Regions from separate parts of the Homo sapiens genome. Here region 1 is linked to region 2. The links are contacts of gene promoters, found by promoter capture Hi-C in human tissues and cell types (Jung and others, 2019). All regions are on one chromosome and are shown on one strand. The core of a region is centred on a gene start or on the middle of the fragment in contact, and the rest is flanking DNA. Distances in the headings are between cores, read along the strand shown. Region 1 has its middle 11 kb from the start of OR1J1. Region 2 holds the start of OR1N2 (olfactory receptor family 1 subfamily N member 2).

The links. Contacts are between HindIII fragments. The study calls those that stand out against the background at their distance.
Region 1: a contact is called between a fragment that was not itself captured here and the fragment with the promoter of OR1N2 in region 2, in 8 of the 25 tissues and cell types used here (H1 embryonic stem cells, dorsolateral prefrontal cortex, heart left ventricle and 5 more).

The regions. Positions count from the first base shown.
Region 1 is chr9:122,486,400-122,491,695 of GRCh38, forward strand. It overlaps a transcript of OR1J2 not described here. Among named protein-coding and RNA genes, the nearest start is that of OR1J1, 11 kb to the left of the region's middle. The HindIII fragment of the contact is 4,254 bases long and covers 1,920-5,296 here.
Region 2 is chr9:122,551,582-122,556,842 of GRCh38, forward strand. It overlaps OR1N2 (olfactory receptor family 1 subfamily N member 2), which reads left to right and starts at 1,531. Exons shown (of 1, transcript NM_001004457.2): 1 at 1,531-2,633. The coding sequence starts at 1,631. The coding sequence ends at 2,581. It also overlaps a transcript of OR1J2 not described here and a transcript of OR1L8 not described here. The HindIII fragment of the contact is 3,656 bases long and covers 1-2,814 here.

The DNA of each region.
Region 1 (5,296 bases), core at 2,797-5,296, 63 kb before region 2:
CCACTCTATTAAAAGCCCTTATTAAATATATCTTCAAATAGGACAATATTTGCTGCCTGAGAGCACTCAAGAATTTCATGAAGTAAATTGGAGAGTTTAAGGATGAATAAAAATCTATAGTTTCAAGATTTGTGCCATGATGGTGATGTCAGTAATACTGATAATAAAAATTAGAATAGCAATCATTCATTAATCACATATTTATTGTGTGAATAATAATATAGGCCAGCTGCTGTGATGCAATTTATATCATATCAGCCTAACAGGATCACAAAATGGCATTATTCTCATCTAACCAATTGGAAAGTAGGGTTTACAGAGTATAAATAATTTGCCTAAAATTCTACATCATGAAAATGATGGGGAGGTCATTCAATCCTGTGTTTGTCTGATTTCAAACTCATGCTGCTAATCATCATGTCGTATTGCCTCCAGCAGAGCATTGATGGAAAAGACATCTGGATATGCACCTGTCATTAAAGAGGTGGAATCTGTAATTTCTTAAAAGCCTTTGCATAGATGTATTGCTTCAGTCTTTAATCAGATGATCAGAAGAGAATAGAGAAACCAGGAAATCAGTTACTGGATTTACGAAGGCAGCTTCCCAGAAAGTAAATTTCTCGGGGTCCCAGGAAAAAAACAAATAAGACCCTGGCCAGTGTTGTTGTTGATACCTATATTCCATCAGTAAGGGAAAGGTTAAGGCAACTATGGTACACATTATTGAAAAGAATATGTAGTCAATAAAATAAATTCATTAAAAGCTTATGATATAATTTTTAAAGGACATAATAGGAAATTGCATGTAGGTATGTTTATAACTATTTATAAAAATGCAGATTATTATTATTTTTTAAACCTTGAAGAATGTGCTCATAGCTGGGATGCAGGCCAGATATTCAGCAAAACTGTGAGAGAACATTTTCCTAAAGAGGAAAGTACAAACACCAGAGAATAATAATAATGATGTCCACCCTAAATTATTTGATGTAATACAAAAATTATATAAACCACCTGGCACATGTGTACTCATCTGCAAGATTTTGGAGGAGATGATTAACACACACACACACACACACACACACACACACAAACTGCTTAATGGAGTCTGTAAGCATTGGTCTTACCTAGTTCAGTGATAAATTCAAATATTGTCAGCTCCTTGGTATGAACCAATCATTCATTTTCTCTCCAAAAGTCTTAGAGCTGGAACAGTGAGAAAAGTCATGAGCTCAACCCTGAAGTGGAGAAGAGGCACATTCTTTGTTTTTCACCAGCCACAAGGCTACAGCAAGAGTATCTCCCTTTACCTGCCTGGATGGGAACCCAGGGGACTGGTGCCAGAAGTCTGTGGTGAGACACAGTTAGGGGCTAATTACTGTATTTCCCTTAATATTCCCAGTTGAAATGTGCCTTTGCCGGACACCAAGGACAGTCAACTCCTATGGGAATATAAATAAGAACTTTTATTATGTACAGATTTTTTTTATTTATAAAGAACTTTCACATCTATAAGATTTTTTAAGCATCACAATAATATTTGATGTAGATAGTATTTTTCCCATTTATTGAGTTTGACAATGTCTCAAAAGTAAATGGTTAAATGAGTATTCAAACATAAACACATTAACTTCAAACCTAAAGCCTGGTTTCATTCTAGGCTTTCTTCCATGTTGCCTCCCTTATATTAGTGAGCTCTATATTTTAAATAATTCTTTTGGGTTTTTTGTTTGTTTGTTTTGTTTTTGTTTTATTTTTGTTTTGAGACAGTTCTGTTGCCCAGGCTGGAGTGCAGTGGCATGATCTCAGCTCACTGCAACCTCTGCCTCCTGGGTTCAAGTGATTCTCATGCCTCAGCCTCCCAAGTAACTGGAATTACAGGTGTGTGCCACCACGTCCAGCTAATTTTTTGTATTTTTAGTAGAAATGGGGTTTTGCCATGTTGCCCAGGGTGGTCTCAAACTCCTGAGCTCAGGTGATCTGCCCGCCTCAGCCTCCCAGAGTGCCTGGATTATAGGCGTGAGCCACCGCTCCTGGCCTATACAGACTTCCTCCTTCCCACATTCAATTTGGAACTGGAAGGAGAGGTGTTACTAGTCCCTGAGGATTAAGAACACTTTTCAAGGACTAGAGATTTATTTTCCTCATGGGAAACACCTGAATACATGCAGGATTTATTTTTGGTTAGTGATGACACATAATAATAGTTGGAACAGACTCAGGGCTCAAAAAGTATTCTTTGACCATAAAAATGAGTGTGAGAATCTTCAGAAACCTGCTACATTCAGGTTGGCAAAAATATAAAAGAGACGGAGAATTAAGTGGAGGAGATTGCTTTTTTCATTATTTCTTTGAATAATTTGTGCATTCATTTACTCATTCAGAAGAATATTGTATAAATATGATGTGGCAAGAATTTTGTGAGGCACTGTAAGTAAAGAAAACACAAGTTTCTTTTTTTAAAATTTATTATACTCTAAGTTCTGGGGTACATGTGCAGAATGTGCAGGTTTGTTATATAGGTATACACATGTCATGGTGGTTTGCTGCACCCATTACCCATCGTCTACATTAGGTATTTCTCTTAATGCTATCCCTCCCCTAACCCCCCCACCCATTGACAGGCCCTGGTGTGTGATGTTCCCATCTCTGTGTCCATGGGAAAACACAATTTTCTGTCCCCAAAGAGTTCCCAATCCATTGAATGAGATCGACAAAACCGTCCACATCAGACACTGTAATGAAGGTAAGAGCCGAGTGCTGTGGGAACACAAAGGGGGGCATCAAACCCAAATTAAAGGCATCAAGCAAGTGTTCTGTGTGGGAAACTTATGAGGGGAGAAGAAAAGACACACACACCATTCCTTTATTCCATATATAAATATATATATATATATTTACACTCGCCAGACTACGGAGGATTCACCACCAGACTGGAAAGCAACAGCCTGGGTTCCAGAGTCAGATACAAAACTCACCAGACTGTGGAGGATTCACCACCAGACTGGGAAGAAACAGCCTGGGCTCCAGAGTCGGCCACTTGTCCGTGCACAGACAAGGAGAGGTTTCATGAAGCTTCGGTGCTAGGGTCTGGGACCCTAGCTCTTTTTGTAAGAAGTTGTTTTGCATGAGGCCCAGTGACGAGGGCCCTTTGCGACTGGGCTCAAGGAACACAAAAAGATCAACTTGTTTTTGCAATTATCTATTGTTTTTCAATAACCAATGTATAGGAATAGATTGAAATAGAGATTTCTCCGAAACAGTGCTGGATGAATGCCTCAAGGGGCTCACACAACCTGTTCCCGGACTTGGTGACCATTGTTTGTGTCCACGTTCAATTGAGTTCAAATTTAATATTTAACTTTTTCTCCACATTGGGCCTCAATTTGATACTCAGTTGTAGGAAAATACCCTTACAGATACATGGGGAAGGCACAGTTGATAGATTACAGATACATGGTAAGCACAGGAGAATTAAAAACGCAATTAATAAAAACCACACCTACGATAGCTTTGCAAGGAGAGTAATATTGTGAGAATTGTCAGGGATAGACACATAACATTTAGTATGCAGTAAGGCACAAACCCCTCCTTGGGCTGTGGTAAGCATATCTAATGCCTCTCGATTTTGCAACACAACAGTGCACGGCTGAGCAAATTCATCTGATAACATAAGTCCAGTGCTACTATCATTAAGAGCTTTTTCTACATGTAAGCTTAATATTTTAATTTGTTGCTGAAGCAGGATTGTACTGGTGGCAGGGGAGAATACTGTGATAGGGTACCATCATCAGGGAGTCTGGCACATTCATAACCAGTGATGTTTGTAAGCATCTAGATTACTGGGGAGGGAATATTATCCCAGATGGTGAATGGAATTAATGGCCATCCCCAAATGCATCTCCCCATCCAATGTGGGGTGGTGAGTGTAAATATATATATATCTCTTTTCCTTTATCCCCTTCCCATTGCAACTTGCTTATTATATCAATTTGCTTATTATATCATTGGCTTGTTATATCTGCATTGCCATTTACGTGGGATAAAGCTTGTTTACCCTTAAAGGTATTTTGTGTGTGTCTTTTCTTCTCCCCTCATGCGTTTCCCACACAGAACAGCAAGTAGGCTTGTAGAAAGTTACAAGTAAGCAGAAACTCAAGAAAATCAAAACAAGTAGAAGGTGATGTCAACAACATAGAGGCAGAGCAGTGAAAGGGAGAGAAACAGAGGAATAGGAAAAGACCTACAGAAGAGAAAGGATGGCAAATTTAGGAAACAATTGTCAGAAAAATTAGAGTGGCTAAAATGTACACTTGAACAGGGGAAGAGGTTCAGGATGAGTCCAGAGAAACTAGAAGGAATAAATCATGCAGGACCTTAGAAGCCATATTGAAGAATTTGCATATTACTCAAAAGGAAAGAAAGAGCCATGGAAGGACTTGATCAGCAGATTGACAATCATACTAAACACAGTTGGTATAGTTCAGGAGTGGATAATGAGCATGTGTTTGCAGTGGGCAGAGGACATGTTGGCAGAGCAGGCATGGGGTAGTGGAATGCAAGACCAGAAGCAAAGAGACTCATTAGGAGAAGATGACAGTCATTTAGGTAAGAGATTATGAAAGTGTGTATAAGAGAGTGACCATGATGTTAGAACTATATTGATTTAAGTCTCCGTAGTCAGAATCTAATGGATATAGTAATTTTGATGTGAGTTGATTTTGATAAGAATGTAGAAAATAAGGAGAACAAAGGAGTTGAAAACCTCTCTAAATTTATGGCTTGGACAGCTGAGTGTATGGTTGTGCTATTCACTGAAGGCAATATAGAAGAAAAAGATTTGAGAAGTTGTATTGCATAGAGTATGAGGTACCTATAGGTCATCCATGAGACAAATTTAGTAGGCAGGTGGATATATTTTGGATAGAGATAGAAATTCATGGACTGTCAACATAGAGGAGGATGAGATTGCCTGAAAACAAATGAGGTTAGTAAAAGCTGAGGAAAAAGAAGAAGGAGGGGAGAGAAAGGGAGGAGAGAAGAGGAAAGGAGAAGGGAGAAAAGCAAGGAAAGGGAAGGGAATAGTTGCTGAGGACAGACCACAGGGAACATTGACAATTAAGATAGTAGCAGAGAAATAAAGCCCCCAAAAGACATCAAATAACAACCAGAGATGGAGAAGGAGAATATAAAAATGTAGAGCCAAGGTTAAGTGCTGAAACCATTCATTGGATTTAGTAATAATGAGGATTTCGGTGACATGACTAGGAGCAATGCAAATAAAAGGTGGGAATGG
Region 2 (5,261 bases), core at 281-2,780:
GTGACCTGCTAGTCAGGCTGAAGTACACTGCATTGCCAGCAAGAGGCTTCAGAATCACATTCCCGAGACCCACATTTGAGATCTTAACCCCTGGGAAAGAGAGGTCCTCAGCTCCCCTAGGATCCAGCCAGAGTTGGCTGGAGAACAGGCTGCACAATGACACCGAGGTCGACCTTAACGAGCACATTGGGAGATGGTGTTCTAGGAGCCTTTATAACCTTAAGAGATATTCCTGTCTTCTTATGCCCGGGGAAGCTGAAATCGAGCCATACACTTCAGGTATTTCTAATAAACTCTGGACTCAATAGACCCCGACTTTATTGCCTCTGAGTCAGAAAGGTCTCAGAGTTTTTTATTATGAATTATCCATCCAAGGAAGAGAATTGGAGAATTTGAAGATGCCTAAAACTGATCCATAATCTGACAGGTGAGGATTTGGAAGGGGTAGGACACATACACACACACACACACATACACTCTCTCTCTCTCTCTCTCTCTCACACACACACACATATACACCTTCCTTCCCAGTTCGATGATCAGGTGACCAGGCAAAAGTTTCCTGGGAAAGTGCTGAGTCTCTGCCTAAGGTCAGAAGCTTCTCTATGAACCAAAGAACAAATGGAGGACTAAAATAGTTACAAAAGCTTCTAAGGCCAAACTTCTACAAGATCAATATGAAATGGTTTCTCCTACCAGCTCACTAGGGCAGCAAAAAAACAGACTGGTTATTTTCAAACCAAAAAGTCAGGGCGATACCTTTCACCTTCCCTCCCTCTGGTTAAAAGTAAATATTAGATAAATGTAGTACAAATGTAGGGGTGAAGGCACAGGTGAACTAAAATATCAGTTCCCAGAGCAGATAGAGATGCATAGCAGCAAAAAAGGGAAGAGGACAGGGATAAAGGAGAGGAAGTGATGGAAGGGAGAGAGTGGCTCCCTGTCCTATTTGTATGCGTGTGTGTGGGAGGGAACATCCTAACAGTGGATGGGGGAGTACGACACCAGACACCTACTGCCCTCAGCTCACATATCCTTTGCCGCTAGTTAGGAAAGAGTACAGGACTGGTTTGAATGGGTGAGGTCAAATTCTCAGCACTGAAAGGCAAGTGGGGAGGAAGCTATCTTGTCTTAAAAGTCAATTTCAGCCCCCACAAAGAGGGCTTGAGTGTGTGTGTGTGTGTGTGTGTGTGTGTGTGTGTGTGTGTGTGTGTGTTGGAGGAGGGGTAGGAGTTTGATGGAGATCATGCATCTTCTTTCCAATTGACAATAACAAATGGCTTTTCTAATCTTGCCATCAAGCTATTCTCAATTCTCACTTCCTCTAAATAGCCCATGCCAATTTCTCTGGTCAAACAAATCTCTTTTCTTTGGATTCTGCTATAGCATACAAAGCACAATTGAGATTTGAATGGATATTATCTTAACTGTTCTCTAAATGTCTCTTGGGTATTTCCTTGCATTCCCAGTGAGATTCAGAGATTCTTATTGGCAAAGACCATTTATTTTTCTTTTCTTTTTCTCCCAGCACAGTTCTGGCCACACAGATGCATATCTGTAAATTGATCTAATAAATAAATACTGACACATGGAAGGTTTTTATCTGCGCAGATCACACGAACTACAAGGGATGGGAAAACCAGGCAGAGTGAACCAAACCACTGTTTCAGACTTCCTCCTTCTAGGACTCTCTGAGTGGCCAGAGGAGCAGCCTCTTCTGTTTGGCATCTTCCTTGGCATGTACCTGGTCACCATGGTGGGGAACCTGCTCATTATCCTGGCCATCAGCTCTGACCCACACCTCCATACTCCCATGTACTTCTTTCTGGCCAACCTGTCATTAACTGATGCCTGTTTCACTTCTGCCTCCATCCCCAAAATGCTGGCCAACATTCATACCCAGAGTCAGATCATCTCGTATTCTGGGTGTCTTGCACAGCTATATTTCCTCCTTATGTTTGGTGGCCTTGACAACTGCCTGCTGGCTGTGATGGCATATGACCGCTATGTGGCCATCTGCCAACCACTCCATTACAGCACATCTATGAGTCCCCAGCTCTGTGCACTAATGCTGGGTGTGTGCTGGGTGCTAACCAACTGTCCTGCCCTGATGCACACACTGTTGCTGACCCGCGTGGCTTTCTGTGCCCAGAAAGCCATCCCTCATTTCTATTGTGATCCTAGTGCTCTCCTGAAGCTTGCCTGCTCAGATACCCATGTAAACGAGCTGATGATCATCACCATGGGCTTGCTGTTCCTCACTGTTCCCCTCCTGCTGATCGTCTTCTCCTATGTCCGCATTTTCTGGGCTGTGTTTGTCATCTCATCTCCTGGAGGGAGATGGAAGGCCTTCTCTACCTGTGGTTCTCATCTCACGGTGGTTCTGCTCTTCTATGGGTCTCTTATGGGTGTGTATTTACTTCCTCCATCAACTTACTCTACAGAGAGGGAAAGTAGGGCTGCTGTTCTCTATATGGTGATTATTCCCACGCTAAACCCATTCATTTATAGCTTGAGGAACAGAGACATGAAGGAGGCTTTGGGTAAACTTTTTGTCAGTGGAAAAACATTCTTTTTATGATTAGACATCTAGACGGTGATGTCTAATCTTGATCAACCCCTCCCTGTCTTCCATCACTTCAGTAATTCTACTACTGTCATGTTGATATTAGGGGAAGGTTATCCGTTGACTCTGAGTTAGGGATGTAAAAAAAAAAAAAAGAGTGTTTCATTCTTTTATTAGGCTGTGGAATGAGATGTTCTGTCTCAGCCTCTTTCCTGACCCCAGTGAGGCAACCATTACTAACAGCAAAACTACTATTCCTCCTCACATCTCTAAAACCAGCATATTAGCCATAGTGAACAAGGCATTTGTTATGAGGCTCTGGAGCTGAGCAATTCTACCCCAGCAAGGCAGGCATGGGATGAGGTGAAGGAAGGAGAATAGAAACATTTATTGACTATCCACAATGTTCCTCATTATTCCTTACATCAGTTACTTTAGGTAGAATTGTGAAAACTGTGAATTAGGATGCTAAATAACTTAACAAGTCAATTTATGCCTATCGACTCCCTTTCTATTTTACCACTTTGTGAGGATCATGACAAGGAAGGTGTGAGTGTACATCTAAGGTTAATATTGAATGATAACAATAGGAGAAAAAGAATTAATATATGTTATGGTATTCCTTACTATTTCATTTCTTTAACTTAAAAGCACTCTTCTGTTGTAGTAAATAGATTAAAAGTAATCAATATTTGTTGTACACCTACTAGTGCCAGATTTGTACTAACTACACCATCCGTTCTCTGAATTCTTTCATAAAATATTCTAGAATCAAAAATGATAAATCAAGCATGCTGGAAATTTTTAGGGCAATAATTTGATGCAAAGCAATCTGGTGGAAACTGATATTATGAGAAGTCACAAAGCTTAACAATGGTTTTCTTTTTGCAATGAAATTCTAGGTTATCAATTTCTTCTTTATAGCTACATGTTTTGAAACATGTAGATATTTTTCAAAAAAGGAAATGAAATTTGAGGGTTGGCACAAAAAAATGTTGCAGTGATAACTCACAGAGAAAAAGAAGCACTGAAACAGATCTCTGAGATCAAGTTCATCCGGGGCCAAATTTTTTAATAAAGGAAGGTATGCCCTTTTGGTGTTGTACAATAAATATTGCTTAAGGATCTTCCTTTAAGGAAGATCAGGCACTAGCATGCATTGCTCTTTGGTCATTCTACCTCTCTCCTTCTGTCCCTTCTCTTTGGATAGAAGAGAGGAATAATGAGACAACTAAGGAAACCAGACAAGACCATCTTAGCCTTGAATTAGGTGACTTGGCCCTGACCATAGCAATCTGCGGCTGCAATTTCTAGTGCCAAGGCAAAGGTTGGGAAAGGCAAGTTTTGTGTTTGTGAATAATATCTCTCCTCTTTGGGAACTAATTTCTGACCTCTAAGATCCCCACCTTTGCCCTCCAGTCACCCAGCTACACCATGCCATTTACAGTCTATTTATATATAAAGATATCTACCTCAAGGAATTGGCTCATGCAGTTGTAGAGGGTAGCAAGTTTGAAATTTGTAGGGCAGGCTGGAAACTCAGGCAGGCATGAACATTGCAATCTTTTTTAAATATATAGACTTTACTCTTTTAGAGCTGTTTTTGGTTTATAGAAAAATTGAGCAGAAAGTTCCCATATACTTTATGCCCCAACACACGCACAATCTCCCGAACTAATCCTCACCAGAGTGGTACATTTATTACAATCCATTAGCCTCCACTGACACATCATCACCCAAAGTCTATAGTTTACATTGGAGTTCATTCTTGGTGTTGTGCATTCTGTGGGTTTTGACAAATGCTTAATAGCATGTATTCATCATTATAGTATCATACAGAATAGTTTCACTGCCCTACAAATCCTCTGTGCTTCATCTAGTTATTCCCCTCTCCCCATAACCCTGTGGTAACCACTGATCTTTTTACTGTCTCCATAGTTTTACCTTTTCCCAGAATGTTATGTAGTTGGAATCATACAGTATATTGCCTTTTCAGATTGGCTTCTTTCACTTAGAGTGTGTTTAAGATTTCTCCATGTCTTTTCATAGCTTGATAGTTCATTTCTTTCTGAGACTGAGTAATATTTCATTGTATGCAATATTCAGGGAAAGGTGTAATGTCTGTGTCTAGATTCTTTTTTTTTTTTCATGTGGATGTCTAGTTGTTTCAGCACTATTTGTTGAAGAGACTGTTTTCTCCATTGCATTGTCTTTCATCCTTTGTCAAAAATCAGTTGACTCTACTTATGTGGGTCTATTTCTGGGCTCTTTATTCTGTTATATTGATCTATTTTTCTGTTCTTTTGTCAATGCCACACTATCTTAATTACTGCAGGCTTACAGTAAGTAGTGTCCACCGGGGCCTGTTGGGGGTTAGGGGACAAGGGGAGGGAGAGCATTAGGACAAATAACTAATGCATGCGGGGCTTAAAGCCTAGATGACAGGTTGAAAGGTGCAGCAAACCACCATGGCACATGTATACCTATGTAACAAACCTACACATTCTGCACATGTATCCCAGAACTTAAATTTAAAAGAAAAAAAAAGTAAGTAGTGTCAGTCCTCCAAACTTGTTCTTCCATAATGTGTTAGCTATTCTGAGTCTTTTGCCTCTCTGCATTTTGTTGATATCCACAAAGTAACTTGCTGGGGTTTTGATTGAGGCTATGTTGAATCTATTAATCAAGTTGGGAA